7 separate regions of the Homo sapiens genome follow, and all the other regions are linked to region 4. The links are contacts of gene promoters, found by promoter capture Hi-C in human tissues and cell types (Jung and others, 2019). All regions are on one chromosome and are shown on one strand. The core of a region is centred on a gene start or on the middle of the fragment in contact, and the rest is flanking DNA. Distances in the headings are between cores, read along the strand shown. Region 1 overlaps ACSF3 (acyl-CoA synthetase family member 3). Region 2 overlaps CBFA2T3 (CBFA2/RUNX1 partner transcriptional co-repressor 3). Region 3 has its middle 13 kb from the start of CBFA2T3. Region 4 holds the start of SNAI3 (snail family transcriptional repressor 3). Region 5 overlaps CBFA2T3 (CBFA2/RUNX1 partner transcriptional co-repressor 3). Region 6 holds the start of ACSF3 (acyl-CoA synthetase family member 3). Region 7 overlaps ACSF3 (acyl-CoA synthetase family member 3).

Region 1 (4,065 bases), core at 599-3,098, 440 kb after region 4:
CGTGTTGTTCAGTTCTTCTATATCCTTGCTGGTTTTCTCACCACTTGTTCTGTTACTAAGTGAGGGGTTGAATTTTCCAACTATAACTGCCTGTTTCTGCTTTCAGTTTTTGCTTCATATATTTTGAAAGTCTGTTGTTTGGTACATTCACATTTATAATGATTGTGTCTTATTGGTGAATTGACTCTTATTAACATTTAATGCTCTGGTAATGCTCTTTGCTCTTAAGTTTACTTTGATATTATTATAGCTATTTTAATTTCTCGGTTGGAGTTTGCATGGTATTTATTGTTCTATCCCTTTACTTCCAACCTACCTGTGTAATTGTATTTGAAGCAAGTTTCTTATACACAGCATACAGTTGGATTATGTGTGTTTTTTAAATCCAGCCTGACAAGCTTTGTAATTGGTATGTTTAGACCATTTACATTTAATGTAATTATTGATGTGCTTGAATTTAAGCCTACCATTTTACTATGTGTTTACTATTGTTCCCTGAGAGTTTTATTGCTCAACTTTACTGCCTTCTTTGAGGTTATTTTTTCATATTCCATTTTAATTTGTCTCTTAAGTTTTTGACCATAAATGTCTTTGCATAGTTTTTTTAGTAGTAGTTCCAGAAACTACAATATACATACTTCCTTTTTTACAGTCTACTTAAAGTCAACATTTTAACACTTCCAGAAGAATGTAGAGCCACATCCCTGCCTCCACATCGGTTACTTACCCTCTGCCTTTAGAGTGTAGTCAGTGTAATACCTGTATTTGTTGTAAACTCCGTTAGACAAAATGGTAATTTTTGCTTTCAACAGTCAAAAATATTTCAGAGAACTTGAGAAGAAAGGAACTCAACTTCATTCATCCAAATATTTGCCACTTCTGTTGCTTTTCCTGTATTCCCAATATACCAAGTCTCCTTCTGATACCAGTTTCTTTCTGTCTGAAGGACATTCTATAGGAATTCTTTTAGATCAGATCTGCTTGCAACAAATTACCTTATTTTTCCTCATCTAAGAATGTCTTTATCTTCCTTCCTGAAGGATATTTTCATTGGATTAGGAATTCTGGGTTGACAACTATTTTCTTTCAGCACTTTAAAAATATGATTCTTGGCTGGATGTGGCAGCTCATGCCTATAGTCCCAGCACTTTGGGAGGCCAAGGTGGGAGTGGATCACCTGAGGTCAAGAATTTGAGACCAGCCTGGCCAACATGGGGAAACCCTGTCTCTACTAAAAATACAAAAATTAGCCAGGCATGGTGGCACACACCTGTAATCCCAGCTACTTGGGAGGCTGAGGCTGGAGGATTGTTTTAACCTGGGAGGTGGAGGTTGCAGTAAGCCGAGATCATGCCATTGCACTCCAGCCTGGGTGACAGAATGAGAGTCTGTCTCAAAAAAATACTACTAATAATATAACTCCACTTCTTTCCGGCCTCCATTGTTTCCGTGGAGAAATCAGTGGGCGCAGGAACCCTTGTTCCTCTCTGTGTGTCAGTGATTGGATTATGATGTGTCTGGGCTTGGACATCTTTTGGTTTGTCCTGTTTGGGATTCTCTCAGCTTCTTTAGTTTATAGGCTTATGTTTTCACCAAATTTTGGGTTTTTAGCCAAATTTTATCAAACGACTTTGTGCACCTAAGTGTTATCTTTTCTTCTGTCACTCCAGTAGCATGAACGTTAGCCCTCTGTGTGTTGACTTTCCTGGTGATTTTTCTCTGCTGTTCAGATTTTGGGTCATTTCTGTTGCTCTGTCTTCAAGTTGTCACGTTCGTTTCTTCATCGTCCTGCTCCTGAACCAATCCATGAGATTCTTTATTTCTGTATTTTTCAGTTTTTAAATTATTGTTTGGTTCTGCTTTATATCTGTTATTTCTTTGTTGAGACTTTCTGTTTTTCCATTTATTTCCAAGTGTTTGCCCTTTCTTTCTTTTTCTTTTTCTTTTTCTTTTTTTTTTTTTTTTTTTTTTTTGAGACAGGGTCTCACTCCGTCACCTAGGCTGAAGTGCAGGGCTGCAGTCTTGGTTCACTGCAATCTCCACCTCAAGCGATCCTCCTACCTCAGCCTCCCAAGTAGCTGGGACTACAAGCACTGACCACCACACCTGGCTAGTTTTTATCTTTTTTGTAGAGACAGGGTTTTGCCATGTTGCCCAGGCTGTTCTCAAACACCCGAGCTCAAGCAGTCTGCCCGCCTCAGCCTCCCAAAGTGTGCCCTTACTTTTTGGAGCATTTTTATAATAGTGCTTTAAAGTCTTTCTCAGATAATTCCAATAACTGTGTTGTCTCAGTGCTGTTGTATTCTTTTTCTATATGAGTTGCTATTTTTCTGGTTTTTTCCCGTGTTGAGTAACTTTGTATTGTACCCTGGATATTTTTAATGTTAGGGATGAGATTCTTGGTCTTGTTGACATTCTGTGAAGATGTTGAGGTGTTTGTTTTACTGTGACTTGGTTGGCTTAACTCTACAAAGTCTGACCCTCCTTCCCTGGGATTGGTCTCATTGTCATTTTATTTGTAGGGCCTTTGCCTTGCTGTCTCTACATGTCCCACAAGTGTACTGACCAGTGGCCAGTCTGACCACGTCAGTGGAGCAGATAAAGGACAGCAGTGGAAAAATTCACGAAATTCAGATAAAGTCCGTGGTTTCTTTGAAAAAACAAACACAAGGCTCTGAGCAGCCAGGAGTTAGGCTGGGCACTGCACGGAAAGCCCCGTCACCATGTGGGGCAGGTGTTTCACCCCCGTGGGTGGCGTCAGCCCCTCCTGGAGGAGCCCAGGCTGGCGGGTTGGCAGCCCCGTCATCATGTGGGGCAGGTGTTTCACCCCCGTGGGTGGCGTCAGCCCCTCCTGGAGGAGCCCAGGCTGGCGGGTTGGCAGCAGGACGACACACTCGGCAGAGGCTGCCATGGGGCAGTGTTGGCCCCACGGCGTTTGAGCGCCCTTTCTCCACATCAGATCAGTGTGTTCTGCTATTTCGCAGCTACTTCCCTGGCCCCTGGTTTTCTGAAGTCCATTCCAGATGGCAGGTGATGAGCCTCAGTGAGACTCTTGTACGCATCCCTTGACCTCCGGGGTCACAGCCAGTCACTTTCACAGTAGAGAAGAGTGAGGGTCGTGGAGCTGGCAGCTGCTCATCTGAAGCCCCTGCTCCTTCTCTGCCCTCCCCAGACCCTCCTGACCTATGAGCCGAGGGCTCGGCCGGTGTCTTCACAGACCCACCGTGTCCAGGGCCTCCCGTGCCATCTGTTCCTGGTGCTGCAGGGACCCCCAGCCCAGGCTCATATAACCCAGCCTCCCTCCCGCCCTCTCCATGGTCACAATAGAAGAACAGTGAGGCTGTGTTTCCTGGGGCCATGGCAGTGCCTGCATGCTTAACAGGGGCCTCCAGGGACCCTCCACCCTCAGGCCCCACCTTCCCTTCCCACGGAGTCTTCCCTCTTGTAATTGGTCACTCAGCCCTGTGGAGGGCGCTGCCCGCTCCAAGCTGCCCCAGCCCCTGTGGGCAAGGTGTGGACAGGTGCCCGCTGCTGTGTTCCCTGGTTTGAGAAACGCCCCCGAAGATGGGATTTGGGCACAGGTTTTAGACGTGGACAGGCTGCCTGAATCCAGCCCAGGCTCTGAGTGCTGAGGCCTGGGCCGGTAACATGCTCAAGTCTAGAGGATGGGGTAGGAGCACGTTCTTCTGTGGCTGTTCTGGGAGGAATGAAAGGACACCCAGCTCCCGGCCAGGGCACCAGGGCCCACAGAGGACGGCGGGAATGCTTAGCTCAGCATGGTTGGCTTCCACCTGTCAAAGCTGCGTTTTCCAAGCATTCCAACAAAGCGCTCAGTTTCAGAAAGCACGCGGCCCTGGGTGGGCCCTGGGTGGGCAGGGAGCAGCCCACAGTTTCAGAAAGCACCAATCCCAAGAGGGTGTGCCCAGCTCTGACCTCCATGTTCTTCATCCTCCACAGGTGACCCCAGGGTTTGAAGAAAAGGAGGGGGAGCTGCTGGTGAGGGGACCCTCCGTGTTTCGAGAATACTGGAATAAACCAGAAGAAACTAAGAGTGCATTCACCCTG
Region 2 (3,995 bases), core at 502-3,001, 280 kb after region 4:
GTGCGGCCTGGTGCCCCCGTTTTGAGGAATCCCCCATCCTCTCGTGAGCAGTCGGCTGGGTCAGGCTGGCTCCACCGGCTCTGGGATTCGGCTGCAGCCTGGCCCGGATGCCGCCGGGGTCACCGCCATCTGGAGTGAGGGGCTGCAGCGGACACGGCTGGAGGGACGGTTGCAAGGTCCCCTCCCCCACTCTGTCCCCCTCAGGTCTGTGAAGTCGGGACTTTCTAGACACTCAAAACACACCTGGACTTGGGAGCTCAGGAGGAAGCTCCGGGAGCCCACAGGGTGGGGTGAATTCTCCAGTTCCTTCTCTACTGGGCTCCCTCCCGGCTGGTGCCTCCTGGCCTTGGCAGGGGTGGGAGGCCTGGTGTCTGCAGGGCCAGCTGCGGGGGTCGCAAGAGCGGGGCCCCTTGGGAAGGAGTGCCAGGAAGAGGGTCTTTCCTCACCAAATCCCACCCCAGCCTTCAGGAGGGGCTCGCCGCCACCCCGTTTTACAAACAGGAGACAGGCTGGGGTCAGCGTGGCCGGTGGACAGCAGTTTCCATTCCCACCATGGTCGGGTCCAGCCACTGCCCCTCACAGACCAGGGAGCCGAGGGAGAGGGGGGCGGGGCCGGCCTGACGACGCACAGACCTCAGCACCGCCCGTGGGGCTGCATCTTGCAGGCTCAGGGCAGCAGGCCAGGCTTGGCTGCCAGGGTGCGAGTGGCAGGTGCCGGGGGGCAGGTGCTGGGGCTCCCGGTGGGCCCTACTAGAGGGCACCGTGGACCCGGTCCAGTTAGGGTGAGCATGGCCTGGGGGGTTGCGATTTGGCAGAGCCCCCGATCTTCTGCAAGGCTGTGGGTTCACCCCATCCCCCTCCACAGGGGCCTCCCAAAATGAGCCCCAGAAGCTGTGGCTGTTGGAGGCTTCTGCCATGTCTTCTCAGGAGGGCATGCCTTCTGGCCCCACTCCTCCCAGGGAGAAAGCCACACTTGGGGCCCTCACCCCAGGAGTCCTCGTCTCCACAAAGGGGGCGCCTGGAAAAGCTGATGGAAATTCACGTCAGTGGGAGGCAGGCCTGGGGGAGGGGTTGGCCCACTCTCCAAAAGCTGCCAGTGAAACGGCTGCTCTGCAGCTGTCCTGGGCCGAGAGAGGATTTCACTCCAGGAGGCGGTGGCGGCGGCCCCAAGCCGGCAGCCTTGCTGTGTGATCAGCTGGGTGTCAGGATGTGCTTGATCCAGGGGTCGGCGACGCGGGTGTCAGGCAGCACCTGCGTGGGGCTTCCTCAGGTGAAGCAAGGAGACGGAGAGGTGGGTTCGGAGGGGCTCAGCTGAGGGCGCGGCTCTCGTCTCAGAGCAGGGCGTGCAGTGGGGTCCCTCTCCTGAGATGCGACCTCAGCTGCCTTGCCTCTGGGAGGGTCCCTGGCAGAGATGCACAGCCTGGGAGGACGTGGCCCACCCCAGCCCCGCTGTGTGAGCTCGGCTGGTTTCCTGACCTTTCTGATTTGTGTCCTCATCTGAGGTCAGCGATGCCCTTGAAGTGTTGCCGGGTGAAAGCCGGGAAGGGATTGCCGTCTGCCCCTTCCCTCCGGGGCCACAGGGCCTGAGTTCCTGGGAAAACTGTGGAGCCAGTCCCTGCCTCAGCACCAGCAGGATGCACACAGCCAAGTAACAACTGAAGGACCAGGAGCACGGAGGCCTCGCCTCGCCTGGAGATGGAATAGACTCACGCCTTCCAGGGCTCAGCACCCTCCTGGGCCAGCACCGTCTGCTGAGGGCCCTGCTGCAAGCAGGCACCAGAGCCCCTGTCTCGTGCAGCCGACGCTGGGGGCCGGGGGATGAGTAGTACGTAAGGGGGCAGCTGGTTTTTCTCATGGGGTGACAGATTGAAGGAGAGGAACACCGAGGGAAGGAGGTCGGTCGGGAGGGGGCTCCTCGGCGAGGGCATAGCACAGGCACGGGCTCGGGAGGCTTGTGGAGCCGCCAGGCAGCCGGGGCTGTGAGTGCCGGAGGCCGACGCGGTGGGGTCGGGCCGGGAGGGCTGGGCCGTGGGTGTGCGCAGGTGTGATGTGGCTGACGTGTTTTCATCAACTCAATTTTCCTTTTTTTTTAAAGACACGGTCTCCCTCTGTCATCCAGGCTGGAGTGCAGGGGCGCAATCTTGGCTCACTGCAACCTCTGCCTCCTGGGTTCACACGATTCTCCCGCCTCAGCCTCCCGAGTAGCTGGGATTACAAGCACCCACTACCACACTCAGCTAATTTTTGTATATTTACTAGAGGCAGGGTTTTGCCATGTTGGCCAGACTGGTCTCGGAATCCTGGCCTCAAGTGATCCGCCTGCCTCGGCCTCCCAAAGTGCTAGGATTACAGGCATGAGTCACGGCACCTGGCCTTGATTTTTCAAATGACATGGTGACCCAGCCACTCTCTGCCCACCTGAGAGAGCTGCCTGGGGCCTGGGGTGGGCAGAGCTGGGAGAGGAAGCCCCTCGGTGGGGTCCCCGCTGTGGACCTGTGTCCTGGGCAACTGCCCGACAGGCCTGGGAGCGGCCGTCCTGGGGGTGGACTTGGGGGTTTTGTGCTGAGAACTTCATTGGCGCCTGCTGCAGGCCGGCCTCTGGCTTTGTAACAGTCGACCTGAGTGACCCAGTCCACAGCTCCCAGCTGGAGTTCCTTCAAAGGGTGGGTGGGCGGCCCTCAGACAGGCCTCTCTTTTCCCTGCTTCTCTCCAGCTGCCCCTGGCCGACGTCTCCTCGGAGGAGCACTGGCCGGCGAGTCCTGGCTCAGCTGTGACCAATCGGCCTCTCCCTGAGGCCGCTCTTCCTGCCTGCGCCTCCCCGGTCAACTGCAGTCACGGAAGTGAAAGTGCCGGAAAACCCCTGCCCAGCGCCCAGGCAGGTTAACGGGACGCACTGCTTCTCGGTCCACATGTGGTGAGAAGTGAAAGTTGTCTTCGCCTAAAGAGTGGCCTCCTAGAGCCGCCCCCATGGGGCCACTTCCTCCAGGAAGCTGGCCCGGATTGCACCCTGACCCTAGGCACCGCCCCTGTCTTCCTAGGTGCTGATTCAAGGTCTTTCTGCTGGACAGGAGGACATGGCTGGTTGCTGTCCTTGTGTGTGGGGATGGGCTGGTATGGGGAAGGAGCGGAGCATTCCAGCAGCCACTGAGGCCTCAGGGAAGCAGTGCCACGCTTACTGGGGAGGGAGGGAGGGAGGTGCACTTATGGGACCTGGAAAGCTGGCTGCACCTGGCAGTGAGGACGTGCCCAGAGCCCCTGCTCCCTGCTCTGTGCCAGTGGAGCCTCCGGTGGGGAGATAGTTGGGGGGGAGTCAGGCTTTGTCCCACCGTCCACTCTCCTGAGGACTTCCTGCCTCTGTGGATGCCCCTCTCTCTATTACTAGCTCATCCATTCCTCTTCACCCTCTGGCCCCAGAGCTCTGCACTCTGCCGCCTCTGTCTGACCTTCGTAAATCCTCCCTCATGGAGCTGTCCATGCACTGGCAGCCCTGTCCCCTTGCGATGCTGCTGGCTTTCTGCCATGACTGACCCAGGAGGGATTCCAGGGCAAGCTTCCCTCCGAGCCTGGGGCTGGACTCCACGGTCAGTCTGATTTCACAGCAGCAAGATCCTCACATCTCCAGCCCATCTGCCTCTGCCCCACAGGGTCAGCAGAGCCTGCTGTGTGCCTCTCAGAACCTCAGTCTCTTCTTCTGTGATAGCAGTAACAGCAGCACTCCCAGGCTGGCTCCCCGACATGGAGCCCCCCAACACCATGTGGTCAACAAAAGGGGGGACAGGAGGCGGGAGGTGAGGTCTGAGGGTGCTGGGGACCTTGGGATGATGGCTGTGATGGCACTTTGCTCACAGACACAGGTCTGACAGCTACCATCCGGCCCCTTTGCAGGCACCCTTGGGGCTGCCTGTCTGTCTGTCTGTGGCCTCAGACGTCTTGTCATGCACACACTGACCTCCCTGCCTCTGGCTGGAGCCCACAGACACCCTGGCCGAGCTCTG
Region 3 (3,837 bases), core at 86-2,585, 300 kb after region 4:
TTCTCTCTCTCTCTTTCTTTCTTCCTTCCTTCCTCTCTCTCTCTCTTTCTTTCTTTCTTTCTTTTTCTTTGATGGAGTCTTGCTCTGTCACTCAGGCTGGAGTGTGATGACGCGATCTCGGCTCACTGCAACCTCTGCCTCCCGGGTTCAAGTGATTCTTGTGCCTCAGCCTCCCGAGTAGCTGGAATTACAGGCACACACCACCACACCTGGCTAATTTTTGTATTTTAAGTAGAGATGGGGTTTCACTATGTTGGCCAGGCTGGTCTCAAACTCCTGACCTCAGGTGATCCACCCGCCTCTGCCTCCCACAGTGCTGGGATCACAGGCTTGAACCACCGCACCCGGCTGTAAGTCCAAGCTTCCTCCTCTTATAAGGACACCTGTTGGACTGGGTTAGGGCTCCACTCTGATGGCCTCTGTTTAACTTAATTATCTATTTAAAGGCCCTGATTCCAAATACAGTCCCATTCTGAGGTCCCATCCGGACTTCCACATGGGAATCTGTGGGGCAGAATTGACCCCATCACAAGGTTCCTCCTGGAGCCTTCAGAGGGGGTGGCCCTGCCGACACCTTGATTCAGACTGTGGACCCCAGAGATGCGAGAACGTGTTTCTGTGGTTTCAAGCCCTGGGCTATGGGCCTTTGCGTGCAGGGCCACAGGGGCGCAAACCCGCTCTTATCCTCCGGTCCCATATTGCAGATGGGAAGCCAGGGGTCAGCACTGGGTGATGGTCCCACTCCACGACGGGAGCTCCCAGCAGTCTCCTTCCCACCCACTCGGCTCCACGCAGGGCAACGGGAGCTCCTGGCTCCCAGCAATCCCCTTCCCACCCACTCAGTGTCTCGTGCATGGCACACACGTGTCCTGCGGGCCCGCTGGGAGCTGGCTGCTGGTCCCTGTACGAGGCTGGGGGTCTGACCTCACCACCAGGGACAGACAGCAAAGCAGACCATGAGACAGGGGAGCAAAGCCGTGCGGTGGGAGGGGTGAGGCGTGCGGCATGACTGCAGGGCGGGGAGGGCCTCAAGGGGAGAGGCAACTCGGGGCAGCCCGCATGGCCCAGGCGTGGGTCAAGCTCTGGGAGGCACGCTCCCCGCAGGACCAGCCGCACGTGCAAAGCTCCTCCTGCCCCCAGCCCCGGCCAGCATCTCGGAGCCACTGCGGATTCAGTCGTGGGGTCCCTGGAAGGCAAGGCCTTCCCTAATCTGGGCACCGGGGCCTCCCAGGTGGCGACGACAGACTCCCAGGCTGGCTTGAGGCAAAAACACGGCGCGCTGGGACGTATTTGGATGTAAATGTTTTCAGCACAGAGCAGCTGGGAGATGCGGCCTCCGTGGGAGCTGGGAGCCGGGGCCATATGGCCCCTCTCCCGCCTGTACTGCCTTCGAGCGGGGGCGCTGCCTGGTGGGGCCCCCAGGGGTGTCTGCGGGGGTCGGACTTGAGTCCTGCCGGCCCCTCGCTGGCTGCTGCCCGCCCTGCCATCTGTCAGGTGGGGCGAGACCGTGCCAGCTGCCCTGGCCCTGAGGAGGCCTTGAGGGCATCTGAGGGGCTTGGGCCTGGCGCCAGCCCGATGGGTGTGTGCATCTGCAGCCTTGGCAGCATCTGGTAACTTCCCTCTTCCCACTCTTGGCCCTATCCCTGGTTGGGGAAGAGCCAGGTGCTCACCTGCGGCCCTGCATGGTAAACCAGACGGCGGCTCACAGGGTCATCTTGGCAGGGGACCCTCTGGCCACACAGAAGACTCGGAATTCCTGGCTCTTCTCTCCCAGCCCACGGCGGCTCCTTCCAGAGACCCTGAGAGACCCCTGGCACCCTGGGAGATGGGAGCAGAGCTGGGATCTGTCCTGGACGCAAGGGATGCCTCCCCTCTAGAACAAGCACTGGCTCCCCATGTCCCATCAGCTGAAGGCTACATCAGGTTCAGCCCTCACAGCCCTGAGCGAGCTGCCCTCCTGTGCCCTCTCCACAGCTGGGGCTTCCCGGTGGTTCCATACGGAAGCCCCTCCCTCACAACCCACCACCCCCAGCTCCAGTCACCCGTCCTCAGTCATGGTAGTGGGTGATTTGGGCTGTGAGGCCCTGGGGGGTGGCCCAGTGCAGCAGCGGCAGACGGGGCACTGTGGGGGGCTCCACGGGGGTGCTGCTGGGCCCTCTCCAGCTTCAAATGGAAAAACACAGGCCTGCGTGGGGCCCGTCCTGAGGTTCTGGACTGGGTGTGTCAGTCAGTGACGTCATCAGGGACCCTGGCCCGCTCCCTCTCATGCCTTGTCGTGGCCTCTGCCAGGCCCGCTGTCATCCGGCCTGTCGTGGCCTCTGCCCGGCCTGCTGTCATCCGGCTTGTCGTGGCCTCTGCCCGGCCTGCTGTTGTCCGACCTGTTGCCTCATGGTTCCCAGATGGGTGCTGCAGCTCCAAGAGTCACAGCTTCTGACCACTGCGTTCAGGGAAGGAAGAGAAAGAGCCAGGGAGGAAAATCTCTTCCAGAAACCTCATGCAGTTCTCCCCTTTCAGCTGACTGGCTAAGCCGGGTCTCACAGCCGTGTCTGGCTGCCAGGGAGCTGGGAAAGTTCTGTGGGGTCCCTGCCTTTCGGGGGGATAAAGGCAAGGGCTCAGAGGGAACAGAGTTAGCCGTGGCCATGGAAGGAAGAGCAGAGCTTCCTCCAGGCTGAGTGGGGCCGGAACACTGCTGGGCCCAGCTCTAGTCGGCGGGAGGCTGTGTGCTGTGTTGGGGAGCGGATTTGGCACCTGAGTGTGTGCCTCAGTGACAGTACCTGTGCTCTGGGGCTCAGGATGGGGTGACAGGACAGCACCACCCCAGGTGTGGACAGCAGGCTTAGACTGGTGATGAGGGGGCTTGTCCTGGGGAGGGCCTCAGGCAGCTCTGTTAGACCCAAAGTAGGAGAGCTTCTTGCAACGGAGGCCTGGAGCAAATTCACGCCTGCAGAGCGGAGGAGCCCTCCTCTTCCCAGGTGGAACCCCACGTGTACCTCTTCTCCGAGGAGGCTCCTTGGGGAGCTGTGTGGATCCTTCCCACTTTCCCTCCACCTGGGGCTGCCTCTCTCCCCTGCCTAGCTTCGAGGGATGGGGATGGTGGCTGGCTGGGAGCCCTGTGTCCCCTCACTATGATGGGGACCCTCAGCTGTACCCGCCTGAGGGCTGCAGCCGACTCATGGTGCCCCTTGCCTGGCTGTTCCGAGGAGTCCGGAAGAGGCTCACTTCTACATTTGCCCTGAAAATCTCAATTTTTGCTTTAAAATGCAGCAGCGACTGGGCAAGGTAGGGCTCACGCTTGTAATCCCAGCACTTTGGGAGGCCGAGGCGGACAGATCATCTGAGGTCAGGTGTTTAAGACCAGCCTGGCTAACATGGTGAAACCCTATTGCTACTAAAGACACAAAAATTAGCTGGGCCTGGTGGCACATGACTGTAATCCCAGCTCCTCGGGAGGCTGAGGCAAGCGAATCACTTGAACCTGGGAAGCGGAGGTTGCAGTGAGCTGAGATCGTGTCACTGCACTCCAGCCTGGGCGACAGAGTAAGACTCTGTCTCAAAAAATAAATAAATAAAATGCAGCAGCCCTGGTCCCCTTAGGAACCCTTTCCTCCACAAATACCCCTGTTTACCTGAACACAAGGCTGGGGGCTGTGTTTCTTTTGTGTCCCCAGTGCCTAGACTCGTACCAGGCACACAGTAGGTGCTTTGTACGTGTTTGTAGAAGGAACGAATGAACAGTGCCCCTGTGATGGGCCCAGGGAGCCCAACGTGACCCACACAGCACATGCCTGATCACACGTGGGCGCTGGGGGGCGTGTTATGTGTCTGCTTGTTTGTAAA
Region 4 (4,023 bases), core at 245-2,744:
GCGGGGCAGCACGGCTACTCACGACAGTTGCCCACTGGGCCCAGCACAGCTACCCAGATTTGCACACTGGGATGGACCCTAAGCAACACTTTGAAACTTGCAACTATTACCCATGTAAATTCCGCACACATGTGTAGTCACATGCGCATCCACATACACATAACAGAAGCCAGTGTCCTTCACCATGAGCCAGGCACTCCGGCAGTTTCTGCTCTATTTTATTTTACAAAATTGCTGGGGGTGACTGATGAAACTGATTTCAAAATGCACATTTGAAAAGCATGGTCCTAGCTGGCACCCCCTGGTGGCAGCCCGGGCCTCGGGTGTGGGTCCAGGTGGGATCCCCCCCATCCCCAACTCTGGGTTCTGAGCTGGGATAAAGGCCTCTTGGCGGTGTTGCTGGGGGCCACAGCCCCAACAGCGCCCTTCCTGCTCTCCCCCACCGGCCACAGAGCGTGAGTCCCGACCACCGCGTCCGCCGGCGCCCCTCAGTGGGCCTTTGTCCCAAGAAGCTGCCAAGCCAGGTGGGGACTGCTCTCACCGCCCGTGTGGCAGGCTGTCCTCTGAAGGACAGAGTCCTCTTCTCTCGTGTCCCTAAGCCTAGCAGGCAGTGGGAATGAACGGGCAGCCCGGTTGCTGGGCACCCATCTCCCCAGCCTAGCCGGTGTGTGGAGGATTGCAGCCCTTTAGCCCAGCCTGCCCAGGCAAGCCTGCCGGGGTGAGCAGGAGGGCTTCTGGGGTGAAGGGAGGTGGGGGAGGGAGGGAGACCACGGGCGGAGGCTCACCTGAACTGAATGCAGGAGGGGCAGTGCCTTTGCACCAGAAAGAGCCCATGTGTCCTTCTCACCATCCCCTGTGCTTACACCCCCAGTCAGCATGCTCCGGGGGTCCCTGAGCCGGGCCGCCCCAGACGGCCCTCCTTCCCTCCCACCCACCACCCCGCGACCCCTCCCAAACGTGTGCGCCAGGAAGATGACTCCAGGGTGCCTTTAGCTGGGGCTGTAGTGGTTGGGACGGGCGGCTGTATATCAGGGGTGAGTTCCAGGGAGACTTGGGGGCTTAGAAAACTTAGAAAACTTCTCCAAGTTGGGAGAGAATCCCGCCCGCCCTGCCGGAGGCGGGGCTCAGTGCCCTGAAGTGGAGGCGCCCGTGGGCCACCTCCCTCCCTGCAGCCGCAGCCGCTGCGCAGAGGCGCTGGCTCCTTCTCCTCCCACCTGGGACAGGTGTCTCCCCAGCCCCCGCTCCCAGGGGCCTCTCTCTCTCTCCCGCCCCTCAGGGTCGAGTCCCGGCAGGGGCTCGGGGATCGGGTAGTCAGTACCTCTCTGCGTCTCCAGCCGCCGGTAGTTGGGGACCCTGTGGCTGGAGTGCGTTTTCACCAGGAAGGAGCGCGGCATGTTCCCCTCCCGGGCGGCAGGCCGGGGTGGGCTGGGGCGGGAGGGGCGCGCCTGGGTCCGGACTGCTGCGTCCGCCGGCGCTTGAAGGGGTCAGGCTCATTAGCATAGCGCGCCGCCTCCGCCAACCAGCGCCCGGCGCGAGTGGGGCGGGGCCACGGGGGCGGAACTGAGGGCGAGGCGGGGTCTCGGGCAACACGCCCAGGACAGGTGCGCGGGCGGGACGGGGCGGGGAGCGCGTGGCCGCCGGTGTCCTCCCCACGGGAATTCTCTGGCGTGCGCGCCGCCGAGTCACACACCGACCCGTCGGGCCTGGCCACCCACTCGCCGTGAGTGAAGGGCAGAGTTCAAAGCTGTGTGGAAACCGAGCGAGAATCTCTTCCACAGAATGTGGAAGCGTCGGCCGAGCGCGGTCCTTGGAGAACCCTTGCTGCGGAGAATGACGCTCACTCTGCGGCCTGGCCTCGCCTCCCCATCCCTTCTGCAAACTCACAGGACAGGATTGATGGGGAGAGCCCAGGCGAAACGAAGCTGACCCTAGTGACCAGCCCTACTGGCGGCTCTGGAACAGGCCCGGGACCGGTGGCCTGGAGACAGTGGTCCTTTCTGGATGGGCTGCAGTCTCCGAAGGCTTCCCCCACTGGAGTCAGCCCTTTAGGAGTTTGTCCAGTGCCTCCAGAAAGCTGTTTTTTGGGGGACGGAGGACTTGGCCTGGAATTCTGGAATTCCCAGGGGGTCAGACATGGTTATGGGAAGTTTAATAAAACCGGTGAATCACGTGAATTCTGCAACAGCTGCACGTGTGACCTGGGCAATCCGTTTCCCTCCTTTGTGGTCCTGTAGAGCCCTCAGGGTCATAAAAAGCTGGGAGCCGCTGTGTCCAGTGTCTGGGTCTCTTTTGACATGGACATTTCATAACGTTGGGGGCCAGGTGGGGCCGTCTCTGGGCTGGCGTGCACACAGGGTGTCCCTGGCTGTGCCGCCGGCCTGCCTCCCCAGCAGGGCTTCCACCTCAGAGCTGGGTGGCCTTTGCCCCCTGTGGGCCGGGGGTGGAGAAGGTGGGGGGTGGTGAGTCCATGGAAGCTCTGAGGGACAGACAGCAGGGAGGAGGGCCGTGCCACACCAGCATCCCACGTCCCACATCACACGTCCAGGGTGTGAAAAGCTGGGCTAGTATCAGCCCCACTTTGCCAATGAAAAAAAACTAGGCTGTGAGTCTGGGCTCAGCAGCTCACGCCTGTAATCCCAGCACTGTGGGAGGCTGAGACAAGAGGACTGCTTGAGCCCAGGAGTTTGAGACCAGCCTGAAAAACAACATGAGACCCCGTCTCTACAAAAAAAAAAAAAAAAATTATTTTAATTAGCCAGGCGTGGCAACACCCATCTTCAGTCCCAGCTACTCAGGACGCTGAGGAGGGAGGATTGCTTGTTGCAGTAGCCTCCAGGAGGTGGAGGCTGCTGTGAGCTATGATGACCCCACTGCACTCCAGTCTGGACAACAGAGCAAGACCCTGTCTCAAAAAATTAAAAAAAAACAAAAAAGAAGACCAAGGCTGTGAGAGGTTAGGACACAGTGGGATTGGGACCCAGCCACACTCCAGCTTGTCTGCCACTTGGTGAGGGGGAGTGGAAGGACAGGTGGAGGTGCCCCTGGAAGAAGGTGCCCGCCTCTCCTGCAAGCATGGCCTGGCACCACCACGCCGGGAGTGTAGATTTCAGAGGACACATGCCTGCCTTCTGCTTATTCACCTGTTCCTCGCCTGGAAAGGTTTCTATTTATAGCCTCCCTTCCTTCTCTCTCTCCCTCGCAGACACAGATAACGCTTGCAGATACCTGAGCCAAGCCTCCACCCACACCGTCCCTCCCCGCCCACCTACCCGTTGTGTGGCCACCCGCCAAGCCCCAGCAAGCTTATCTCCTAATCCCAGCTAGAGCCTGGTGTTACTCAGGGCTGCTGTAGCCCTCCCGAGGAGAATGGCTGATCTCATCCCGGGAACGCCCTAGAGGGCCTGCGAGCACCTTTGGGGTGGGGTCCCAGGGCTGCCGCAACAACTTGCCCCCCAGGGACACTCAAGTCGGCTGCAGACTCACTCTTCAGCTGTGATGCACAGGGCGGTGTCCAGGCTGGACCCAAGAAGGCCCCACAGAGGGAAACATCAGCGTCCCCCTTCCCACAGGTGCAGCCTCGGGGGTGGGGATTGGGGGAGGGCGGCCGTCTCCATCCTTTCCGTGTCTTCCGTTCCTCACTGCCGGCAGCTTGGCTCTGGGGGTTAAACTGACGTGCCCCTGAGTGGGGAAACCCACGGCCCACAGCCTGCTAGACCCGCCCTCCTGAACTGCAGCAGGCGACCCAGGTCCTTGCCCCCTTCCCTGGACATCTAGGACATCAGGATGATGACTTGTGCTGGGCCCGGCAGCCTGGCCCCTCCCATCTGCCTCCATCCGACACCCAAGAGCGGTTTTCCAGTGGGTAGCCCACCCCAAGAATTGCCGGTCAGGGCAAAAACGGTTAGAGTTCCATTTATGTTGACATTTTCATCCTTCCTACACGTATGTCTTCCTGCCTTTCTGGTTTTACAGTGACTGTAACCATAGTGTCTGGAGATGTGCACACAGGTATCCAACACGGTA
Region 5 (4,334 bases), core at 728-3,227, 260 kb after region 4:
GGTGATTGGTCATCAAAGTCATTTTTAATAACTATCAGCTGACAAATCGGTTCTGTCCCCCCTCAATTCTGTTTCATGCAAAGACAAGAAATCAGCAGGTTGCAGCAGAGACACATTCGTGGCGAGTGGGGAGCTGGGGGCAAGGCACCAGGCTGGCCCCAGGCAGAGAGACGTTGGTCTTTCTTGGGGAACTGGGAGAGGGTGACTGTGCAGGGGTAGCTGGGAAAAGGACCCACACTGGCCCAAGCAGGTTCTGCCTTGGCCGTCAGCCTGGGCCGTCTGGTGTGGGCACCAGATGACGCGGCTTCAAGTTGCCCACAAGGTCAAGGAGACCCTCCCGGAGGCAGGGAGGAACCCTAAAGCAGAGGGAGTCCGGGCTCCGGACAGGAGGCTTCCCTGCCTCAGGAGTGTCTCTTGGCTTTCTCCCCTGACTCACATCGGCATCGCTGCTTTTGCAGAATGAGGTTCCTAATTGTGAAGTGGCTTCATTCACGTATTCATTTCTTTCTTCCTTCACTCTCCATATCCAATAGAAAGCAAGTTACTGAAGCTTGCCAAACCTCAGTTTTTCCTGTAAAACGGGGCTAAGAGCTGGCTGGCCTACACATTTGCAATGTGGCTCAAAGACAAGTTCAGAGTTCTCTCTTGTCTTTGTTGAAGTTCACACGAGAACCAGGCCAAGCACAAACAGTTGGAAATCGGAAGTGTCCCGTAGGAAAAGCAGCCGGTGCTCGTGTGTAAAAGGGAATGTGGATGGGATTGAGGTGGCATTTAAAATCCCTGGAGAAGCACAAACTCCCCAGTAGATGGTGTCAGGACAACTGCCCCATGTGGGGAAAATGAATTATATACTCCTTACTTCACTTGGAAAAATAAACTCCACTTGGGTTAAAGAATAAAATGTGAAAAACTGGAACAGTGAAAGGATTAGGAGAAAAAAGCAGAGCAATTTATATAATACCAGTTTAAAATTAAGGCAGCCGAGAAACTCTGAAAAAATTTTAAGAAGCTGGAGGGGTTTGGCCGTGTAGGCATGAGCAACTTCCATGTCCTGAAAGAGACAGGGGACCCCGATAAGAGATGGGTTGGGAGGCCGGGCGCGGCGCCTCACACCTGTAATCCCAGCACTTCGGGAGGCCGAGGAGGGCAGATCACTTGAGGTCAGCAGTTCAAAACCAGCCTGGCCAACATGGCGAAACCCTATCTCCACCAAAAATACAAAAATTAGCCAGGTGTGATGGTGTGTGCCTGTAGTCCCAGCTATTCGGGAGGCTGAAGCAGGAGAATCACTTGAACCCGGGAGGCGGAGGTTGCAGTGAGCTGAAATCGAGTCACCTGCACTCCAGCCCGGGTGACAGAGCGAGACTCTGTCTCAAAAAAAAAAAAAAGAAAAAGAAAGAAGATGGGCTGGGAGTGGGTGTGGGGACAAACGACAGTGGCCCCAGCACACAAACATTGCTACAGAGAAGAACAATACAAGCACTCAAAATAACGCTCAACAAACTTCATGAGTAGGCAAATCCCACAAGAAGAAAACAAAAGGGACCAGACACAGTAGCTCACGCCTGTAATCCCAGCACTTTGGGAGGCCGAGGCAGGCAGACCACTTAGGGTCAGGAGTTCAAGACCAGCCTGGCCGACATGGCGAAACCCCGTCTCTACTAAAACACAAAAATTAGCTGGGCGTGGTGGTGGGTGCCTGTAATCCCAGCTATTGGGGAGGCTGAGGCAGGAGAATCACTTGAACCCGGGAGGCAGAGTTGCAATGAGCCAAAATGGTGCCACTGCACTCCAGCGTGGGTGACAGAGATTCTGTCTGAAAAAAAAGAAAAGAAAACGAAGGAACGAAAACCCCCGCCACTCTCGAAGTCACACGGCTTCCCTGCTTCTCTTCCTCATGACTGGCCCCCTCTCCTCCTCTCCCGTCTCTCTTCACCTCTCTTTATCTGGATCTGTCTCTGCTTGTTCTGCGTTTCCCTGTTCTCCAGGGCAGGAACCACATCGGTCTGTTCACCCCTCCCCTGGACCGGCACCGCCACAGAGGGTCAGAGTGTTGGCACCTGTCTTCCAGGTCTGTTCACCCGTCCCCTGGACCGGCACCGCCACAGAGGGTCAGAGTGTTGGCACCTGTCTTCCGGGTCAGTTCACCCGTCCCCTGGACCGGCACCGCCACAGAGGGTCAGAGTGTTGGCACCTGTCTTCCGGGTCAGTTCACCCGTCCCCTGGACCGGCACCGGCACAGAGGGTCAGAGTGTTGGCACCTGTCTTCCGGATCTGTTCACCCCTCCCCCGGACCGGCACCGCCACAGAGGGTCAGGAGTGTTGGCACCTGTCTTCCGGGTCAGTTCACCCGTCCCCTGGACCGGCACCGCCACAGAGGGTCAGGAGTGTTGGCACCTGTCTTCCGGATCTGTTCACCCGTCCCCTGGACCGGCACCGCCACAGAGGGTCAGAGTGTTGGCACCTGTCTTCCGGATCTGTTCACCCGTCCCCTGGACCGGCACCGCCACAGAGGGTCAGAGTGTTGGCACCTGTCTTCCGGATCTGTTCACCCGTCCCCTGGACCGGCACCGCCACAGAGGGTCAGAGTGTTGGCACCTGTCTTCCGGATCTGTTCACCCGTCCCCTGGACCGGCACCGCCACAGAGGGTCAGAGTGTTGGCACCTGTCTTCCGGATCTGTTCACCCCTCCCCTGGATCGGCACCGGCACAGAGGGTCAGAGTGTTGGCACCTGTCTTCCGGATCTGTTCACCCGTCCCCTGGACCGGCACCGCCACAGAGGGTCAGAGTGTTGGCACCTGTCTTCCGGATCTGTTCACCCCTCGCCTGGACCGGCACCGGCACAGAGGGTCAGAGTGTTGGCACCTGTCTTCCGGATCTGTTCACCCCTCCCCTGGACCGGCACCGCCACAGAGGGTCAGAGTGTTGGCACCTGTCTTCCGGATCTGTTCACCCCTCCCCTGGATCGGCACCGGCACAGAGGGTCAGAGTGTTGGCACCTGTCTTCCGGATCTGTTCACCCGTCCCCTGGACCGGCACCGGCACAGAGGGTCAGAGTGTTGGCACCTGTCTTCCGGGTCTGTTCACCCGTCCCCTGGACTGGCACCAGCACAGAGGGTCGAGTGTTGGCACCTGTCTTCTGGGTCTCCATCCCTCCCTTTGTTTGTTGAGTGACTGCATGTTCTCATTTCCTTATCATACAATTCTTTGAGAGGTATCATTAGCTGCGTCTTATTTTATTTTCACCTTCTTTTCTGTTACCTGTATGTTTGAATTTTCCTATAAGTATTTTTGTTTCATCTTTGCTTTTTTAAATTAAAAAATCAGTTTTAAAATTGCACCTGCAGTACAAAATCAGGGTGGCGACCGGGTTGCTGCCATTCCCTCCCCTCGGGTCTGTGGCTTCTCAGCTCCAGCTCGGGTCACAGACCTGCTGCCACGGCCCCAGGGTGGGCACAGGGCTAGCAGGACAGTCATGCAGGCAGCCGCGGCCCCAGCGATTGGTCCAGGAGGAGGGCAGGTGACCACACGCGGCCAATCACAATCCTTCCCTGGGAGTTTTTGAACTGGAACAAGAGAGGAAGGACCTCTTCTTTGATCTGCGTGGGAGGCAAGCCCAGAGTGGCCTGGACAGCCGCTGGGAAGAGAAGGTGGGCAGAGCGGCGGAGGGTGTGCTAATGGTTGGGTCTGTGGGGCCTGAAACCGGTGCCCCTGCCCATCCTATAGTTTGGTGCTTGAGCCAGCACAGTCCCAGGTGTCCCTGACGCCTCCGAGCTGGGTTTCTGTCACTCGCAGCTGCAGCATTCTGGCACAGACCCTTGGCCCAGGACCCCTGTGCAGAGGTGGGTTTGGGTCTCCCCGGCCCCAGCAGCCCCAGGAGCCTGTGAGATCTAAGCCGGAAGCTGCTCTGGGCACCTGAGTGCTGACAGCCCGAGTGATGGGAACAGGCTCGCTACTATGCAGAGACAGAGAGACTAATTTTTATCAGCCAGATACCTGGCCAGGCCCCAGGGTGGACAATCTCCAAACCGCATGCATCCCGGCACTGACAAAGCCGTCTATCATTGCTGGAGCCAGGACACCCGGGGAGGCTGTGCCAGGCCACGGGGTGAGGGAGCTGCCTCCCTCCAGTCCTTCTCCCGTGGGGCACTGAGACGGCTTTCAGCAAGACAAATGCCCAGGCCACAGGGTGAGGGAGCTGCCGCCCTCCAATCCTTCTCCCGCGGGGCACCAAAATGGCTTTCAGCAGGACAAATGCCCAGGCCATGGGGTGAGGGAGTTGCCGCCCTCCAGTCCTTCTCCCACGGGGCACCGAGACGGCTTTCAGCAAGAC
Region 6 (4,023 bases), core at 101-2,600, 410 kb after region 4:
GGAAGCAGACAGAATTCTGACACCAGATCAAGCCTGTCCCAGTGGCAGAGGGTTGGACTTGCTTTTTCTGCATGATACCTAGCAGGGTGGCAACCAGAGGCACTAGAAGTTTGGGTTTGTTCTCCCACGCTCTGTGTTACAAACTTCCCCCAGATCCAGCTCCTTCCTCCCAGGAAAACCATCCTCGGGCTCCTGAAGTGCCCTTTCCTGAGCTTTCCAAGGACACAACTGCTGCCCCAGCAATCATCACAAGAGAGGAAGATGGGCATGGAAAATAATACACTTACAAAAAAACTGTGCAAGGTTCTGCAGATAATTTTTTTTTTTTTTTGAGACAGTCTCACTCTGCTGCCCAGGCTGGAGTGCAGTGGCGCAATCTCAGCTCACTGCAGTCGCCACCTCCCAGGCTCAAGAGATTCTCCTGCCTCAGCCTCCCGAGTAACTGGGATTACAGGCACCTGCCACCACTCCCGGCTAATTTTTGTATTTTTAGGAGAGACAGGGTTTCACCATGTTGGTCAGGCTGGTCTTGAACTCCTGACCTCGTGATCTGCCTACCTCGGCCTCCCAAAGTGCTGGGATTACAGGCGTGAGCCATCACACCAGGACGGTTCTGCAGATAATTTGTACTACTGTTTGCCAGTACATGTCTTTGTGTTATTAGTATTCATTTTAGGGGAAAAACCCTCAAATTTCAGCCAACTGGACTTTGTGTTTGGCTTTAAATGTTTTCCGCCACTGTCCATCCAACAGTCTCGCTTCATATTCGTATCCTGGTTCCCAAGTCCCTTCGAGGAGAGATTCTCAAATGCGGTCCGTTTAAAATCACCCAAGAAATACAAAAATTAGACAGGCATGATGGCGGGCGCCTGTAGTCCCAGCTAATTGGGAGGTTGAGGCAGGAGAATCACTTGAACCCGGGAGGCGGAGGTTGCGGTGAGCCGAGATCACACCACTGCACTCTAGTCTGGGCGACAGAGCGAGACTCCATCTCAAAATAATAATAATAATAAGAAAAAGTAACAACAATAATAATAATAATAAAATCACCCAGGAGCTCAGCGTGCAGACCCCCAGCCGCAAAGCCCAGAGAGCCCCTTTTGGGAGGACGGGGCGAGGCCCAGCAATCCGCGTTGGGAGTGGTCCCGCGCGCCGTTCTGATCTGGGCAGCCCTGGGCTAGCGGAGACCACGGCGCCTTGCCTCGGCCACGGCTCACGAGACGCCCGCGGCCCCGACCCCGCCACGACGGGACGGGCGGGACAGGGGAACACGCGCGCCCGGAACCCGCCGCCACGGCGCCGCGCCGGGGGGACGCGCTTGGGCGACGGACGCGCCGCGCCGGGGAAGCTGTTGGGCGCCGGAACTGGTCCGGCCCGACTCACGACCCCGCGGGACCCGGCCGGAACCCGGCCCGACCCCGGCGCGCGCGCGGCGGAGGACGAGGAAGAGTTGTGGCGAGGCAGATCCTGCCCCGTGGCCGCGGCCGTCTCGTAGGTGCGGGCGGCGGGGCCCACGGGACCGCGGCGGGGTCGGCCGGGCGCAGAGCTCTCGGGGGCGCGGGCTCCGGCGCCCGCCCCTGGGTCGCAGCTGGGCTTGAGCCGTGGCCCGTGGCGCGGTCGCTTCCCCGCGAGCCGCCTGGGGCCGGGCGTCGGCCTTCCCGGGACGCCGAGCCTCTCGTGTCCGGTGGGGAGCGGGGCCCCCGCGCGGGGTGCGGGGAGAGAAGCTGTGCGGACGCCGGGCCCGGTGATACCGTCGAGCCGGCGGGGTCCGTGTTCAGGCATCCTCAGAACGAATCGTCTTTGGTTGTGTTTGGAATAAATTCACTTCCATTTCTCATTGGGCTTCAGAAGTCACCCTTGAAGTACTCCCCGTTTTAGTTGTTTGCTGCGTGCACCTTGCTGGGCGCGTGGGGCACAGGTTCACAGCCGGCCTAGCCCCTGAGGGCATGTAGATCTATGAGCAAGCAATGGAGACGTGCGGCCGGCCGTGAAGTATTTGGAAGGTACTGCAGGCAGCCCATTCCCTGGAGAGAGGGAAGGTTTAAAGGGGTGAGGCCCGGTGCAGTCAGGAGTTGATGTTGCTGTCCTGAGTCTAAATTCCACCAGGCAGGCCAGGTGCAGTGGCTCATGCCTGTAATCCCAGCGCTTTGGGCAGCAGAGGCAGGAGGATCACTTGTGGCCAGGAGTTCAAAGCCAGCCTGGGCAACATGGTGAGACCCCTATCTCTACAAAAAAATGTAAAAATTAGCTGGGTGTGGTGGCGTACACCTGCACTTCCAGCTACTGGTTAGGCTGAGGCACGAGGATTTCTTGAGCCCAGGAATCGGAGGCTGCAGTGAGCCATGACAGCACCATTGCACTCCAGCCTAGGTGGCAGAGCAAGACACTGTCTCAATAAATAATAAAACTGAAAAAGAAGAGGTGATATTTGAACTGGGCTTGGAAGAATGATTAGGAATTTGCTAGAAAGGGAACACGTTTAGAGATAGGAACACGAATTGTGTCTGGGGCATAGTTGTTGCTTTCCCATCCTGGGAGGACAGACATTCGTGTTAGGGCCCAAGGCTGAGACCTTGTTGAGGAGGGGGTTCACATGGTGGACCCAGGAGCACGGGTGTTACTACCGGTGGACCCTGGGGACCCTGCGAGCTTTGTAGCGTGAAGCCTGGCTCAGGCTGGTGTCCTCTCCGCAGGTGTTGGAGGACATAAGATGAGGCTTCCCTTGCTCTTGCTCCTTTGGCTCTGAACCATCTCCTCAAGGCAGACAGAAATGGCGGATTAAACTGTGGGCTTGGGATAGTTGTAAGTGTCACCTTTCCAGATGGCATTTTTAAAATAGTATTTTTCTTCCTAAAATGGATATGGGTTTCAAGTGTATTTTTCCTTTTTGGTTTTTTTTATTTGAATGTACTGCTCATGAATGCAATGTGAATGTCTGTTACTTAAAAATGTAATTTTGAAAATAACCCTCCAAACCACAGGTGTGATGCTGAAACGCATCCTGCCCCGCAGGCCGAGCACAGCCCTCCTCTGCCCCACGCTCTCATCGGGGCAGCCGACAGGAGGAAGTGCCGGCATCCACTTCAAACACAAGGTCTGGGGGGGCGGGGGTGTCAGGTGTGGTGGTGAACAGGTCAGGTGTCGTTTTATTCATGTTGAAAGCAGCCCTTCATTTGAATGCGAGTGTCATTCTCATCTAGTAATTTTTGTTGCGAGGCTCCATGGGGAGCACCCTGCTGAGCACGGCGCGGCCGTTTGTCTTCTGCCTGGCCTGTGCCGGGCCATTCGTACATTCTCACGTGAAGCCTGTGAGGCAGGTCTTGTTACTGTGCCATCTTAGCGGTGGGAAGTGAAGGGCTAGGCCAGTGAGGAAATGAGGACAAAGGCAGCAGCCGTTCAAGTCGAAGCCTGTGGTGACTAACTCTGCCATTAACCAGCACTCCAGTTAGGAGGGAAAAGATGCATCCCGCTGCGCTGCATGTGTGTTCCCGAGAAGCCCCAGTGCCTTAGTGGTCTGATCTCAGAACCTGATGGCTAGAACACCGAGAGGTCCTGCCTCCCTCCCCGAGGGCTGGAGAGCCACTGTTTTCAGTGGTTCCAGTACGCCTTCACCAAGGAGGCTGTCCTGGCTCAGGCACCTTTCTCAGCTTCTGACTAGAGTCCTTGCCCAGCCACGTGGTGACGCCGCTGACCTCGGGTTATCAGGGTGCTGCGTAGCAGGGGTATGAAGCTGGCTGAGGGTGGAAGCCCCTGACTGAACTGCATTTGTCTGGTGGGCAGTGTCCCTCCACACTGTGCTCCTGGTGGTGATGGGGAGCCCCACGGTAGAAGGGGTCCCAGTGGTTGAAAGGTGAGGTTCTCTCTGAGGAAGCTGGGGTGCCTCTGGACCGGGAGGTGTGCAGGAAGACCGCGCACAGCCATCTGCCCTGAGTAGGCTCTGTCTGCGTGTTCGAGGCAGGGCTCTGATCCGATGACCGTGAAGATTCAACCTCTGTGCTGAAGAGAACTGATGACTGGGCACTT
Region 7 (4,008 bases), core at 1-2,500, 430 kb after region 4:
AACTGTGTGTTCTCACCTTTAATCTGCCTTTTGAAATTTATTTTGGATCTTCTGGGTCCTTTGCCTTTTCGTGTAAAACGTAGGATAAGTGTATCAATTTCTGCAAAATAAAGCTTGCCGGAATTTTGGGAAGATTGCTTTGAAGCTGGAGCTCAGTGTGGGAAGAACTGCCATCTTCACAACATGGAGTGTTCCCGTCTGCGAGCCTGGCCTCTCTCCACCCGCTTATCTGTTCCCCTCCCTCCCTCGATGGCAGTGTTGTGGGTGCTGCTCCGCGGTGCTGCTGTCTCCCGCACTCTGGTCGCCTGTGTCTTTGCTTTCCCGTCTGTGGGTCAGCCTAGATCACCCCCGTTGACTGTGTCTGACTTTTTTCCTCTTTTCTGCTGCGTCTTGTTTGTTATTAGGTCTATTGAATGAATTCATTTTGGATCTTGTGTTTTTCAGTTTTATGATTTTTTGCAGTTCCACTTCTCTTTGCAATTCTCCATCTTCCCCACGTTGTTCATCTTTTCTTTGAAATTCCTTAATCTGCTTATTGCAGTGATTTGAAGGGCCTTGTCTGGTGATTCGGACGTTTGGATTTCCTGAGACTTCTTCCCTTCAGTTGGGGATCACATCTTTGTGTCCTTACATGCTTTGTGACTTTGAAGGGTTCCAGTCTTTGTCTTTGAAAGAATGATATTATTTCTTCCCCGGAGATTCCTGCCTTTCTCTGCCAGGCAGCTGCGGTGAGGCACTCGTCACTGCAGTCCAGTGAGGAGATGAGATGGGCTGGGGCTGGACTGTGGCATCGGCATCCGTCGACCCCAGTTTCAACGCCGTGTGGGCGAGATCTGTCCTGTGTGTCCTGGGCCTCCCTTAGGTGCTGACCCCACAGCACGAAGAGTGCCCTCCTCCCTCCGCCACACCCTTCGGTGCTCCGTGTGGAACACCGCGGGTAGAGAGGGCCATGGAAGGAATGCGGCTCACCAGCTCTTCCTGAAGCTTTATGGGCGACGCGAGAACCCGCTAACGAGTGAGGAACTTAAAACGTATTTATATGTAAGCAAGAAATGTTTATTATGGAGTAAAATATAAAATTCACATGACTCTTTTAAATAAAAGACTTCACCCGTTCGCTAGTCACTGCATGCCTGTCCATACTGGGAAGCATGCTGACTTCAGGTCTGCGGGCAGCCAGGCCCTCCTGCCAGCTTCCCCAAGGTGTACATCCGCCCTCTCTGTGTAGCTGGAAGAGCCTGACCACTCACGTCTCTCCAGGCCACAGATCCCGAAGCCCTTTTCTAGCTCTGTTCACGATTGCTCTTCCCCTCACAGGCCAGACGCAGCTGTCCCGCGCAACATGGCTTCTGTGGGAAGGGGTCAGAGTTTGAGGCACCCCTTTTAGAAGGGAGGCGCTGCAGACTCTTGAATGTGAACCATGAGAACGCTGTGCCTGGAGCCAGGAGCCTCCGCCACGGGCCCCAGTGCCTGCTCATCTTCCTACCGAGTGCTTCCTTTCCTTCGTAGGTTTGGGAAAAGTTCTTAAGTTCTGAAACGCCGCGGATCAATGTCTTTATGGCAGTGCCTACAATATACACCAAGCTGATGGAGTACTACGACAGGCATTTTACCCAGCCGCACGCCCAGGATTTCTTGCGTGCAGTTTGTGAAGAAAAAATTAGGTAAGTGAAAAGAGCCCACTTTCTCGTTCAGAAAGTCTTAAAGATCAACAGATACGACTTATTTCTAATAAATCACTCCTACTAAGTTCTGGGAAGCAGTGCTTTCCATTTCCTTTCAATGTTCCCTCTCTCTCTACCCGTCTCCGTCTCTACCTCTCTAACTGTCTCTCTCTCTCTCTACCCGTCTGTATGTATATCTGTAATCTCTTCCACGTCGATAGCTGCCTGGATTCTGTATCGCTCTCTCTGTCACACTCTGTCTCTCTATCTCTCTCTGTCTCTCTTTGTCTCTCTCTCTCCATCTCTCCATCTATCTGTCTTCTCTGTCTCTCTTGTCAGACTCTCCATCTCTGTCTTCTCTCTGTCTCTCTCCATCGCTCTTCATCTGTCTCTCCGTCTTCTCTTTCTCTATCTCTCCTGTCTCTCCATCTGTCTCTATCTCTCCATCTGTCTTTGTCTCCGTCTGTCTGTCTGCTCTCTCTCCTGTCCGTCTCTCTCTCTCTCTGTCATGGCGTCTGAAGGACAAGGGTGAGGACAGTGAGCTGACCCGCTTGCTCCTGCTTCATCTGCCCACATGTCCCACGGCGCCTGCCTCTCCTATGCAGTCTCTCTGCCTTCGTGGGCAGCCCTGTGAGGCCTCCTGCCTGGGGCACGTTCTGCTGCTTTTCCTCTCAGCCCCGCTCCTCCCCTCCCAGCTCCCTGGATAAACCCCTCCCTCCCAGGACAAGCTGGTCTTTTGGGCCACCCAGGGGCGTGTTTGCTCTGCACTCTCCCATGAACCTGCAGGCGTGGGAACGTTTCTTTTCCCTCGTGGCTGTTGAGGTGTGGTTCACTAACTGGAAACGCACACGTGTGGCTCAGTGAGTCTTCACACGCATCACAGGCCCGCACCTCCAGCAGAGTCGTGGGTGGGGTATTTTTTCTTTTTGTGAGAGGGAGGGGTGGCGTGGAGGGTGCACTGCAGGAACTGAAGGCTCCACTGCCATCCAGTTTCCAGTGGGATGTGTGTGTCTGTGGCTGCCGCGCGCTCCTCCCAGTCCCCAGGAAGTGCACAGGGAAGCGGCACCTTTGTTCCTGGAGAGAATTCCGGGTTGTCCAAGGCACATGTCTGAACCGCTTCGCTCTCTTTGCCGTTCCCTTGCCCCTTTTCTGTGAGGCCACCGGAGCCCATGGTTTTGCTGCTGCTACTGCTGGGATACCCTGGGGCTGGGCAGGCCCCAAGCTGAGCAGGGTGAGCACAACGTTTTACCAAATCTAAGGAACCAAGGGCAAGAACGAGGTCAGTGAAGGAGAGGATCAGGTGATTTCTGGGGTGACAGAGGCAATGAGACCTCGGCCATCTGGATCTCCCAGCGGGGGTCCTGTCAGTGGTGCCTCCTCGTAAAGCAGGGGCAGCAGCAGGGACCACTCCGCTCAGACCGCAAACAAAAGCGCCTTCCCTACTGCCCGTGAGGCTGCGGGAAATGCTGTGTGAGAGCGCGGGGACTCGGAGTTCTCAGGGCCCGTGTTCTCCTGCCAAGCCTGAGCTGACCCTGTGGGCCAAGATGGCTGCAGTTCTGCGGGTGGTTCTGAGCCCCTTGGGTGTGCCCGGCCCCACCCCTTGGGTGCCGCGGCCATTCACCCATGTCCGCGTTCTGCTGCAGAGCCTGCAAGCTGAGCCGGCTGTAGTCCCCGGATGTGCCTGGCCGCAGCCTGCAGCGCCGTGGCTGTTCACCCGTGATCAGCTCCGTGGTCGGCAGCTGCACGGTCACTGCTGTTCTTGAGCGTGGTTGTGAACAGCGCAGGAACTTTGCAGGGGACACCGCGGACCCTAAGCACATTGTTTACCCTCATTAGCTGTTGGACCTGCTTCCTTCTAAAATACACCCAACAGATCGTTTTCAAAAAACAAAGTCACGCCGTAGCGCAGACTGCAGCGTTGGTCCCGGGTGTCGCACAGTGGTGCTGTACCCACGGCCTGGGGCTCCTGCACTCGTGAAGGAGCTGCCACTTTTGCAAGCAAGGGCCGCCTCCTGAGGGGCTAAACCTGCCACCTTTGCACGCGAGAGCCACGTCCCAAGGGGCTAAACCTGCCTTTGGTTGTGCCGCGTAGGCTGATGGTCTCAGGCTCAGCTGCCCTGCCCCTCCCAGTGCTGGAGAAGTGGAAGAACATCACGGGCCACACCCTGCTGGAGCGGTATGGCATGACCGAGATCGGCATGGCTCTGTCCGGGCCCCTGACCACTGCCGTGCGCCTGCCAGGTACGAGCACTTCCCACAGCTGCGTTCCTCTTCCACTGTGCTCTGAGCCCCCCAAGGTGGGCCAGTCTCGAACCACCCACATTCGGACTGAAGGGCGGCATGG

Evidence for each region. The method cuts DNA at HindIII sites, captures the fragments that hold promoters and counts their contacts. A contact is called where the count stands out against the background at its distance.
Region 1: a fragment that was not itself captured here is called in contact with the fragment with the promoter of SNAI3 in region 4 in 6 of the 25 tissues and cell types used here (H1 embryonic stem cells, bladder, dorsolateral prefrontal cortex and 3 more).
Region 2: a contact is called between a fragment that was not itself captured here and the fragment with the promoter of SNAI3 in region 4, in 2 of the 25 tissues and cell types used here (liver and spleen).
Region 3: a fragment that was not itself captured here is called in contact with the fragment with the promoter of SNAI3 in region 4 in 4 of the 25 tissues and cell types used here (lymphoblastoid cells, mesendoderm cells, ovary and 1 more).
Region 5: a contact is called between a fragment that was not itself captured here and the fragment with the promoter of SNAI3 in region 4, in 1 of the 25 tissues and cell types used here (spleen).
Region 6: the fragment with the promoter of ACSF3 here is called in contact with the fragment with the promoter of SNAI3 in region 4 in 1 of the 25 tissues and cell types used here (dorsolateral prefrontal cortex).
Region 7: a contact is called between a fragment that was not itself captured here and the fragment with the promoter of SNAI3 in region 4, in 1 of the 25 tissues and cell types used here (lymphoblastoid cells).

What each region holds. Positions count from the first base shown.
Region 1 is chr16:89,129,179-89,133,243 of GRCh38, forward strand. It overlaps ACSF3 (acyl-CoA synthetase family member 3), which reads left to right. Exons shown (of 11, transcript NM_001243279.3): 8 at 3,958-4,065. Among named protein-coding and RNA genes, the nearest start is that of LINC00304, 28 kb to the right of the region's middle. The HindIII fragment of the contact is 8,026 bases long and covers 1-4,065 here.
Region 2 is chr16:88,969,036-88,973,030 of GRCh38, forward strand. All of the region lies in intron 1 of CBFA2T3 (CBFA2/RUNX1 partner transcriptional co-repressor 3), which reads right to left. Among named protein-coding and RNA genes, the nearest start is that of CBFA2T3, 6.2 kb to the right of the region's middle. RefSeq lists enhancers at 1-833, 2,726-2,865, 3,946-3,995. The HindIII fragment of the contact is 4,840 bases long and covers 1-3,995 here.
Region 3 is chr16:88,988,170-88,992,006 of GRCh38, forward strand. No RefSeq gene overlaps it. Among named protein-coding and RNA genes, the nearest start is that of CBFA2T3, 13 kb to the left of the region's middle. RefSeq lists an enhancer at 2,820-3,837. The HindIII fragment of the contact is 5,289 bases long and covers 1-3,837 here.
Region 4 is chr16:88,685,013-88,689,035 of GRCh38, forward strand. SNAI3 (snail family transcriptional repressor 3) reads right to left here and starts at 1,495. Exons shown (of 3, transcript NM_178310.4): 1 at 1,319-1,495. The coding sequence starts at 1,394. It overlaps SNAI3-AS1 (SNAI3 antisense RNA 1), which reads left to right. Exons shown (of 4, transcript NR_024399.1): 4 at 1,779-2,174. RefSeq lists silencers at 1,106-1,265, 1,316-1,775. The HindIII fragment of the contact is 11,241 bases long and covers 1-4,023 here.
Region 5 is chr16:88,948,186-88,952,519 of GRCh38, forward strand. All of the region lies in intron 1 of CBFA2T3 (CBFA2/RUNX1 partner transcriptional co-repressor 3), which reads right to left. It overlaps LOC100129697 (a long non-coding RNA gene), which reads left to right. Exons shown (of 2, transcript NR_168285.1): 2 at 2,072-4,334. Among named protein-coding and RNA genes, the nearest start is that of CBFA2T3, 27 kb to the right of the region's middle. The HindIII fragment of the contact is 6,684 bases long and covers 1-4,334 here.
Region 6 is chr16:89,092,502-89,096,524 of GRCh38, forward strand. It overlaps ACSF3 (acyl-CoA synthetase family member 3), which reads left to right and starts at 1,351. Exons shown (of 11, transcript NM_001243279.3): 1 at 1,351-1,495. RefSeq lists a silencer at 1,115-1,524 and enhancers at 1,945-2,134, 3,354-3,523. The HindIII fragment of the contact is 24,302 bases long and covers 1-4,023 here.
Region 7 is chr16:89,110,583-89,114,590 of GRCh38, forward strand. It overlaps ACSF3 (acyl-CoA synthetase family member 3), which reads left to right. Exons shown (of 11, transcript NM_001243279.3): 5 at 1,510-1,664; 6 at 3,757-3,905. Among named protein-coding and RNA genes, the nearest start is that of ACSF3, 19 kb to the left of the region's middle. RefSeq lists enhancers at 3,385-4,008, 3,784-3,883 and a silencer at 3,979-4,008. The HindIII fragment of the contact is 3,569 bases long and covers 1-3,035 here.